Linked DNA regions of Homo sapiens: region 2 is linked to region 1. Evidence: promoter capture Hi-C in human tissues and cell types (Jung and others, 2019). All regions are on one chromosome and are shown on one strand. Each heading gives the region's core, a stretch centred on a gene start or on the middle of the fragment in contact. The rest is flanking DNA. Distances are from core to core; before and after follow the strand shown.

Region 1 (5,090 bases), core at 1,511-4,010:
TTTCTTTCTTTCTTTTTTTTCTTTTTTTAAGAACTCTGAAATCATTCTACACTGTCTGTTCCCTTCCTCTGCAATAAATCATTTCACTCCTATTGCTACTGTATGCCAGCTGGTTTTGAGGACACTGTTCTCAGAGAAGCCAGTAAAAAAAAAAAAAAAAAATACGGCTGTCGTCTACTCTGAGTTTTAGGAATGCATTGAAGTAACTGCAGGAAGCCTACGAAAAGGCAGGAGCAGGATAACAGACCCGTAAGAAAAATGATCTGCTACACTGGAGATGTGAAGAAGGCAGGTTTGAGTGTATTCTGAAAAATAACGTGAACAAAACCTTTTAAAACACAGTCAGAAACGGAGTTGTCCTTTCTACACTCCAGGTTAAGTGAAAAGGGAACGTGGTTATAGGATTTTGCCTTTGGGTAATGAAACACCTAGTGATAGCAAATGATACATCAAGGACTGAGGGCCAGGTAGGTTTCTCGAGGGGTCTCCAAACCGGGTTTTGTCTCGGCGATGCTGACATTTTTAGGGTAGTTAGAGACAATAGAGAAGGCTTGGGGAACCAGCTGATAGGTCAGCACGGAAAGGGGGCGCCTTCCGGAGAGGCTAGTTTTGAGACACTTTTTTTAACCCTTCGTGCACCAGTTCGGCGCGCTCCACGCCAATCGGAGCAAAGAAAACAAACCTACCAAGATTCCTCAGTTTAACTCTGCCCCTGGGAGCACCTCTAGTTTGACAGAGTGGGGCTGACTCCTAGCTGGTGGCCGACTAAAGAACTTCAGGGAAGAGAAAAAGAGAATAACGCCTTTTAAAGCACCGAATTGTTAGGGGGAAGGGAAAGATGGAGAAAATAAAGTAGAAAGTAAACATTTTAAAGCCTGATGGCCTCAAGCATACAACTGAAAAGGAGGTGGTGGGGTGAAGGACAGGAGAACGGGAAAAGAGCGAACGGGAACCGCGAGAGGGAAGGGCGATCCCGGGAGCTGCTGCGGTTTTGAGAGCTCCGGGCAGAGCTAAACCTCAGGGGATGGAAGTCAAAATAAGTACTTACTTTCGGAGGGGAAGAAGGGCGGCATGTCTATTTTGTAAACCTCCTTGGCGTAGTACTCTTCGTCGCTCCTCTCGCGCTCGCAGGCGGCCGCCCTCCGGCTCGCCTTCTCCTGGAGCAAGTCCCTGGTGCTGTTGTAGATGGAAATCACCTCCGGGGGGACTTCCTCGGGCTCAGGATAGTCTTCTGGGGGACTGGTGAGCTTCAGCTTGCTCAGGATCTGCCCGCGGATCGCCTCGATCCTCTTGCGCATGAACTGGTCCATATCGAGTGTGCTGCAGGTAGACAGGCTGAGCGCGACCGTGACCAGATGCAGGATCAGAAAAGCGCTCAGCACACAGTAGTGCATTTTTTAAAAAAGTGGAAAAAAAAGTTGTTTTTAAAAGTCAGAATAAAAAAAAGAAATCAACAATTCTCAAAGTATAGATCAAGGAGAGTTGTTTGGTTTTTTGTTGTTGTTGTTTTTGATGCGAAACTTTTGCAAACAATCTAGTCAATGCCCAACAGAAAAACGTATCCTGCTTGAATTCCTTTAAAAAGAAAAGGCCAGTAGTTCCAAAAGTGGAAATATTAATACGGGACGGGCAGAGGGAACCCTGACTTTGGCGAGTAAGAAGAAAAAAATTCTTGGAGCAATGAGATGGGGAAAAAAAGAGACGAGTGGCTATTAAGTAGAAATAAATTTAAGAGGAGGAAGTGGAGTTCAGTGTGTCAGTCTCGGGTGCGGAGTGGCGGATCTGAACTCGGCTCCTCCGGCCAAAAGGGAAGAGATGAAAAGGTCCCGGGGCTGGCAGCTGGCGAACTGACGGGAGGGGCGCCGGGAGCGCGGTGAGGGGGGCCGCCGAGGCTGACCTGGGCTGAAATTTATATATTTAAAGAAGGAGCGGTTCGGTCCTGCCTTCCACTGCGGCGCTGAGAGCAGGAGCAGCAGCAGCTCCGGAGCAGAGAAGCGCACACGTGTGTGCGTGCGTGTGTGTGTGTGTGTGTGTGTGTGCGTGTGCGCGCGCTGGGGGCGAGCCCAGCGCACCGCGGGGAGGAGGGTGCGCTTCGCAGGGCGCTCGGTACTCGGTCGGGTGCCGCAGGGGCCGCAGAGGCTGCTGAGGCGGCGCGGATCCTGCTCTGGGAGCTGCGCTCCGTGGCCTACACCCTGGCGGGCGCGCGCTGACCCGCTTGGTTACTCCACGTTGCTGCCGCCGCCGCTTGCAAACGCTTCCAGCCTCCAGCTCCCTCCTTCTCCTGCTCCTCCTTCTCTTGCTCCAAACGCCAACCCAGCCACAGACGATCAGCCGTCGCGGTTGCGTTCACCCCCTGCGGATCACAACGGCAGCCCTTGCGACACCCTGGCTGGGGAGTTTTATTCCTGAGGGGGTTGCGCAGGGGCTCCCTTGGACTCCCACCCTTTCCCAACCTCTGCTGGCTTCTCCCCAACGTGGAATTGCTCGCTTAGGGTAGGTAGGCACTTGCCACCCTAAAATAGATCCTCTCTGTCTCCTCCTGTCTGCAGCCGGGCAGCCCCTCAGTTTGTTCCTGGATGACTCCCTAGACCGTCAGGCTAATATTCTCCATCCCCCTCCCCTGCCTCTTTCACTTGCGCTCTCGCTCTGCTGTCTCTTTCTCTCTTTCTCTTTCTATCTCTATCTCAATCTGTCTTTCTCTTGTCAGGAGCTTCTGGAGCTCCGCTCGGAGCGAACCTTCTGCTGCCAGCAGATAACATCACGATCTTGCCGGGGAGGGGAGATTTATAAGTTCTCTCTGAACCACGTGTCTGCCTTCAACAAAGTGACGTGCTAGGATTACAGTCAGAAGTCCTCTCGTTACTTAGACCACGAGCTCTCCCCGAACCGTTGAGGGAGTGTGGAAATGAGGACCGCTGTGGGTAAGGGAGGAAGGAGGTGGAATGTGCGCCCTGACAACAGTGATTTACGGTATTTACTTTCCAGTCATTTTGGACAGGTCTGTTGAAGGAAGGACAATCAAGTCTCCCGTTTTTACTTAGTGTAGCTCAGTCACAGCCTCCCAAGCTGAATCACTTGCTCTAGAAGGGAAGGCTTCCCTCCTGTATTATGTGTGCACACGCACCCCTATGGGAGGGAGCACTAGTCTACTCAGGGCCAGGCCAGTACTGAAGACATACCTTCCAATCTTTTAAATTCATGTCCTACCTCTTATTTTCTGGGATACCTTAGCAGGTTGCCATCCCAGAATTTATTTTGTTAGTTTGTTGTTTACAATGTACCCCTCTGTTTGTGAACTGCTGGAAAACAGAGATCCATCAATTTTACCTAAAGAATAAGGTATACTTGTTTGTTTTACTGATTTGAATGAATGGTCACCTTTATAATTTGCTGCCTAAGCCACTTCTTGTATGGCTTTCTTCTTCACCTTCTTGCTAGGCTAAACATTATCAACCAACTTCATTCTTTCCATAGCATTAATCCAGGAAGCTGGAATTTTAAGTGTTTGATGTCTACTGTTCTACACTACTCATAACTTGACATTTTCAATTTCAACTAAGTCTAAATTAGATGAATACAAGAATAACTCTTACCACTGTTCCACCTTCCCTTTTTCTTTTATTTTACCTTTAGTTACTCAAAGTCAACATTTTCATTTCGGCATGACTCTGCAGCCATACTGACCAGACAGATGATTTAAACTGGAAACTCTGTTGAATGTACTCCCAAACCCAAGATCTCTATACTGTTCTCTACTTCAGATGTTCCTGAGTTCAGAAAAGTCACAAAGAACTTTCTATCACTTTTGGAATTTATACTTCAGTTGTGTATGGGGCCTAGGTTATTAGTAGAGCACTGAATAAATAAAATAATAATAGCTAACATATACTACACTTAGTAATTTGATGTGTGTTGTGTATGGTCATTTAATCTTCACTATGAACCTATAAAGTGGGTCTTATTATCCATATCTGGCAGATGAGGAGACTGAGGTACAAAGAAGTTAAGTACTTTGTTCGAGACCACAGTAAGTGGTAGAGCTGGATTTTTGCAGTCAGGATCCACTATGTTCTTACCTACTATGTACTTCTGAGAAACAATGGTCCCAGAATATGTTCTGACAAACAGGAATTCTGGAGTCAAACAAGTTTGGGAGATACTGGGTACTCTCCTGTCCTCTTAGATTCCTCATTCTGGAACATTATCATGTTAAAGGCTCTGAAACTCCTGTAGAAGAGAAAACCTTTTCACTCTTTTAACCCAGCATTTTCCAAACTCCCTTGAATACAGAATTTTTTCCATTATCACACATTGAAAAACTCTGGAATAAAATAATTGTTCCAACCCACTTCTGAATAATTCTAAAAATTATGTATAAATCAGCACCAGCAGGTTCCTTTCCTTGATACCAGTTTTGAGTTGAAGCAAAGCTACCATCCCAGTAGCCCAAGAAAAAGATAATCAAGAGGCGCTACTGTCAGACTAGTAGTTTCATCCAGTTAGGTCCTCCCTCTGAGTTCAGTTTGAGAACTGCAGTAGGCTAGCTCTACAGATTGGACAAAAAGTGAATATTCTTACACCTGTGGCCATTATAGACACAGAGCAGGAGCTCCAAACCAGAGCTACTGAGAGAAGATGCTGCTGTGGAATATGGCTGGTTACCTGAATTAGCTATCACTGTATTTTGCTGAGGATACAGGTTCAGCTTCCACAAGCCAGTGAGCATCTTTCATGTTTATAGACAACCTTCTTGGTACAGACACTGATGCACCTTAAGTAGATTCAGATTAGAGTGTGGATAGAGTAGCAAAAGTTCATTTACATCACTTCTAGGAAAACAGCGCAAGCCATAAATTCTGATGGCCACCCCTCTTCCTGACATAGACATACACACTTTTGTTCATAATACTTAGTTTACTGAGTACCTATTGCTCACTTAACAACTCCTTAGACCTGAGACCCCTGACTTACTCATAAGAGGCTACTTTAATTTCCCCAAAGCCCAGGAGGGTAAGACGGGAGGTATTGGTAAAAGCTTCTGGAATGGGTAAGTGCAGTAAGTGAGTATAGCAGGAGAGGAGGAGCCCCTT
Region 2 (4,843 bases), core at 1,162-3,661, 1.5 Mb before region 1:
GTTGGACTGTGGATTACGCTTTGAAAAATTCTGGACTAAAGGAGCTGATTGAACTTTATCTCTTATTACAGCATCTCTCTCCAATTGCCTTGGCCCATTAGTGAGCAACTACTAGATTTAAATTTGTATGTTTCTTCCAACGCATCTCTTTTGAAGGTTTATTATAGTGTTATGTACCCATTCAGAGCTTAGTACCTATAAATGGAGAGGATTCTCTGAAGATAACCTCCCTTTATCACTTCTAACCTCTTATTCTTGGGTTGTGACCATTTTGCTTACTCAGGGATTCCTAAATAGCCTTTTCAAAAAGTGCTCTAATGAGTAAATTAAAGTAAAAAGCATTTTTAATGATATTCATGTATCTGATAACGATTTGGACTTAACAATGCTGAAATTCTATAACTCAATGAAATGCACTTTTATAATGTTATACATCTATATTTAAATTACCTATTAAGATTTAAATCACAGCAAAACTTTCTTCTCTCAGATAATGCACTGTGGAAGTTATGAATTTACCTCTCATTTCTTTCCAGTAATTCTTTCTCCCATTTTGTGTGAGATATTTGTCTTTATAATTTGACATATTATTTTGGTGTTGCTTAAATATTGCAACTATTATGGGTAACTGAGCTGGCTATTGACATTGTTTGCCACTTATTATAAACAAGAAAATAATGAAGACAAGTCAAAAATGTCAGAACCTGTTAATGATGGGATCGCAGTTATGGTTGGATATACATCAAGGATGGGAGTAGCTAGCTGCTATTTATTATGACATTGTACCAAGTGTGTTAACTTTTGTTATTTCATTTTTTCTCATTTTATTCTTATTGACTCATGTAAGTATAATCATTCTAATGTTACAGAGGAGAAAACAGAATCTCAGAGAGTAACCTGCCTTAACCACAACAATGTAAGTAATAGAAGCAGAGCATGAATCCTGGCTTGCTTGACTCCAGAGTCTCAGCTTTCCCCACTACACTGTGCTGTTATGATGCTTAATTCATTTATTGTATGCCAACTTAATAAAAATAGATTTTATTCAGTGGAAACTCTCTGAATCATACTATATTGGTGGATGCATGTCATTATACATTTGTCCAAACCTGTAGAATAGAAAACACCCAGAATGAACCCTAATGCAAACTATGGACCTCAAGTGACAATGATGTGTCTATGTAGGTTCATCAATTGTAACAAATATTCCATTCTGTCCAGGGGTGTGGATAATGGAGGAGACTATACATGTGTGGGAGCAGGAGCTATATGGGACCTTTCTGTACCTTCCTCCTAATTGTGTTGCAACTCTAAAATGGATCTTAAAATATATATATGTATTTCTTTTTCTTTTTATTTCTTTTTTTTTTTTTTTTTTTTTTTTGAGATAGGGTCTCACTCTGTTGCCCAGGCTGGAGTGCAGTAGCACAAAATGCAGCAGCAGGATTCTCTTGCCCCAGCCTCCTAAGTAGCTGGGACTATAGGTATGCACCACCACGCCTGACTAATTTAAAAATTTTTTTGTAGAGACAAGATCTCACTATGTTGCCCAGGCTGGTCTCAAACTCCTAGGTAAAGTGATCCTCCAGCCTCTGCCTCCCAAAATGTTAAAATTACAGGCATAAGCCACTGCCCCTGGCCTAAATATATATATATATATATATAATTATTATTTTTTGAGACAGAGTCTTGCTGTGTCACCCAGGCTGGTGTGTAGTGGCACAATCTTGGCTCACTGCACCTTCTGCCTCCTGAGTTCAAGTGATTCTTATGCCTCAGGCTCCTGAGTAGCTGGGATTATACACATGTGCCACCATGTCCAACTGATTTTTTAGTAGAGACAGGGTTTCACCATTTTGGTCAGGCTGGTCTTGAACTCCTGACTTCAAGCGATCTGACCACCTCAGCCCCCCAAAGTGCCAGGATTACAGGTGTGAGCAACAATGACTGGCCAAAAATAATTTTTTTTAAAAAAGATTTTGTTCTGATTCTGATGGGGAATGGACTCTTTTCTAAAGTTACCAGCAGTTCTTTAACTGGTTAGCGCTACGTTAGGCATAGCTCGTAGTTTTTAGGGTGGCAGGTATGTAAAAAAAGAGGAGAGATGGACAAAACCAAGACAGCAGAAGTAGCTATTTGAGGGATTTCGGAACCCTTGACTGACAGTCACTTCCTGGGACAGTCCTGATTTTGCTGCTCTTTCCCCACCTCTTTCTTTTCAAGGCTTACTCCCTACACACTTACCCTAGCTCTAACCCTTCCTGCTGAGGGGCACCCCATTCACAAGGCAGCGGATACCAGATGTGAGGAATGGAAAGAAAAACGTTGTTACTTGATTGTTCTTATGAGTTATACACTCAGGCTCTTGGTTGGAGGGCTCTGATGTGAAAGCTTGGCTTCAAATCCACTGAAAAACTAGCATGATTGAAGTGGTGAACTGGAGATAGGGTGGGGGTGGCCTACCACGAGGACTAATTTGTTCTTTAAGTTTATCTAATGGTTTGTAAGGGTGGAAATATCTCTGGGGAAGTGTGATGGATTCTCCTAGGAAACTGACTTCACCAAATAATTCTTTTGAAACTGTTTTCAGAAAGGAGACAAGTGGCATGAATCTATTTACAAAGAGAATCACCTCTGTGTCTGTGACCCGAGAGCCATTCCCGTAGTGATACAACTTGGACATTTGTTCAGGAGGCAAGCGCTCACGCTGAGTGATTTTCAAAGCTGTTCGAGGGCATTTATCAGGCTTTTAACTCTAGGTACTCTTTCCCACGGTGTGAAGGCCAAGAGAAGGGATCCTGGGCTCTCTTCCCCGGCCCCAGGATGGGAATTCAGGGGGAAAAGGTCATCTACTCTTATCCCACAAAAGAAAACTTATTCATCAGTTGTCAAGCTAAGGAGCTTCGGAGTCCACAAATAGGGAAATTGCTAAGAGCTTATCAGTAGTGTTCACCCCCCAACCCAACCTGGGGCCACATGGAGAATGATGTTGGGGGCACCAATCTTGTCCTACTTCAGGTGAAAAGCAGGGGTGGGGGGTTCATTCTGAAGGGCTCCTTTGTTAAAATTCCTTCCAATTCCAGGAAAAACATGCACTCCAAAGCCATTATCTCTTTTACTTCTTACTAGGGGACTTCCAGGAAAGAGACAGAGGGAGCGAGAGAAAAAAAGAGGAGGGCAGAACAGCTGCAGTGAATTTAGTCGCCTCTCCAGTTGCTTTCCTTGTTGCAGAATATTTCACATCCCAGGATTTTCCTTCTTGTCCTCTGGACTGTTGATACACCCAAGATCTTAATATCCTTTCGATCACAGGTTAAAGACATGGGGTGGGGCCGGGGGTTGAGGGAGCAGAAAATTGTATTTTAAAGTTTTGTTCTATTTGTTTTATCAGCAATTAAAACTTTTTGTGGTCCCTACCCTGGGCCATGAGGCCACCCTGCTGTGAATTCAATCCAGCCTGACCAGCTAGGACAATGATCATATGAATTAATGGATCTTGATAGACCTCAGTTCCCCTCTTCTCGCCTCACTGAGCACAGCCCAGGCTTCAGTGGCTGCACGTGTGAGCATCCACTCCCACACTCTACCCAAATCACATGCTGAATTCATTGCACATGTGAGCCGTGCTGCACCTGTGGTCTGGAGATACCAGAGTAAATGTAGCTGTGCACCTCCTCTGGGTGTCAGAGGACCTGAGGTTGCTCCTCTGCCTCAATGAGGGGATCTTCCTTCTTCCCTCACATCTCTCCTCCTCTTTGAAGTCGGTAGCATGATTTGGACCCAGCCTCTTGGGAGAGGTGAAATACTCTTTCACTTTGGAACAGCTGAGGTTTGCTCATGGAATCGGAGGTGCTGAAGTCACAAGATCGTGGTGTGGGTGACGCTGGCGTTTCTTAGTAATGAGCCTTGCTGACACATCCCAGGAGAGGAAGTTAGGTTAGGGCAAGGCAAGTGAATGAAATTGATTAAAGGCTGCAACAGATTAAAAAAATTAATGTACTTCATTTAGGGTTATGATGTCTTCTTTCCTGGGTTAATCCATAGGCAATGTGGGATTAGGGCTCCTTAACCTACACCTGGAAGATTTCACGTCAGAGGAAGGTAAGATAGGGGAATCTGTAGGGGCTGGTCTGTGAGCCAGCATTGAGAGTTTAAATTGAGCCCCATAAGGAAAGCCTTCCTTATCTCCCATAACTAGGAATTACGATGGTGTCTGAGGAGGGGAGGCCTCTGGATGCAGGGTTTACTGTAAAACTGAAGGACAGCAAGGCTGATGCTCACAAGTGAGGGTGGAACAGGTATGGTAAAAGTGCTTTGCATTCAGCAGTCACTCAACAATGACTGAATTAAAGCTATTTTGTGATAAACTTTGTTTGATAGGCTACTGCCCCAGAATGTTTGCAAATATGCTCATTTTTGAGGTTCACAGCTGTCCTCTCCTTCCTGAGGTTCTACTGAGGCATCATTTACCTCCTGGTAGATGTGAGATGTGGTGATCACTATAGGGTAGGCAGCTTGGAAGCAAGGATTGGTGAGCAGTCTTTTGTTCTGAGTTACTACTGCAATGTAGGCCAAATTCCTCTAATTTTTTTTAAAAGACAGAGTGTAGATATTGATATTCTCATTTCCTTTGGAGCTAGAGTAACCCAGAGTAATAAAACCCCTTGGGCAAGCAAAGCAAACACAACTCAAGACAAACCACTTGCACGAGAGGCTTCAAATGGTGATTTAGATTTAGAAAGTTAAGTGATGGGATCTTGAAGACCACATATTCCTTGGGAAAGGCACATGATCTGGCCAGCCTGAAATGCATCATCAGCCCCTTTGAGGAGGTCAGTGACCC

What was found. The method cuts DNA at HindIII sites, captures the fragments that hold promoters and counts their contacts. A contact is called where the count stands out against the background at its distance.
Region 2: a contact is called between a fragment that was not itself captured here and the fragment with the promoter of TGFB2 in region 1, in 1 of the 25 tissues and cell types used here (thymus).

Annotation. Positions count from the first base shown.
Region 1 is chr1:218,343,006-218,348,095 of GRCh38, reverse strand. TGFB2 (transforming growth factor beta 2) reads right to left here and starts at 2,760. Exons shown (of 7, transcript NM_003238.6): 1 at 1,049-2,760. The coding sequence starts at 1,394. It overlaps TGFB2-AS1 (TGFB2 antisense RNA 1), which reads left to right and starts at 2,418. Exons shown (of 3, transcript NR_046268.1): 1 at 2,418-2,493; 2 at 2,708-2,921; 3 at 3,634-3,900. RefSeq lists enhancers at 711-1,211, 2,343-2,392 and a silencer at 2,773-2,832. The HindIII fragment of the contact is 13,667 bases long and covers 1-5,090 here.
Region 2 is chr1:219,793,325-219,798,167 of GRCh38, reverse strand. It overlaps LOC105372926 (a long non-coding RNA gene), which reads left to right. Exons shown (of 6, transcript XR_001738473.2): 3 at 870-916; 4 at 2,591-4,843. Among named protein-coding and RNA genes, the nearest start is that of SLC30A10, 130 kb to the left of the region's middle. RefSeq lists an enhancer at 3,679-3,828. The HindIII fragment of the contact is 6,787 bases long and covers 1-4,843 here.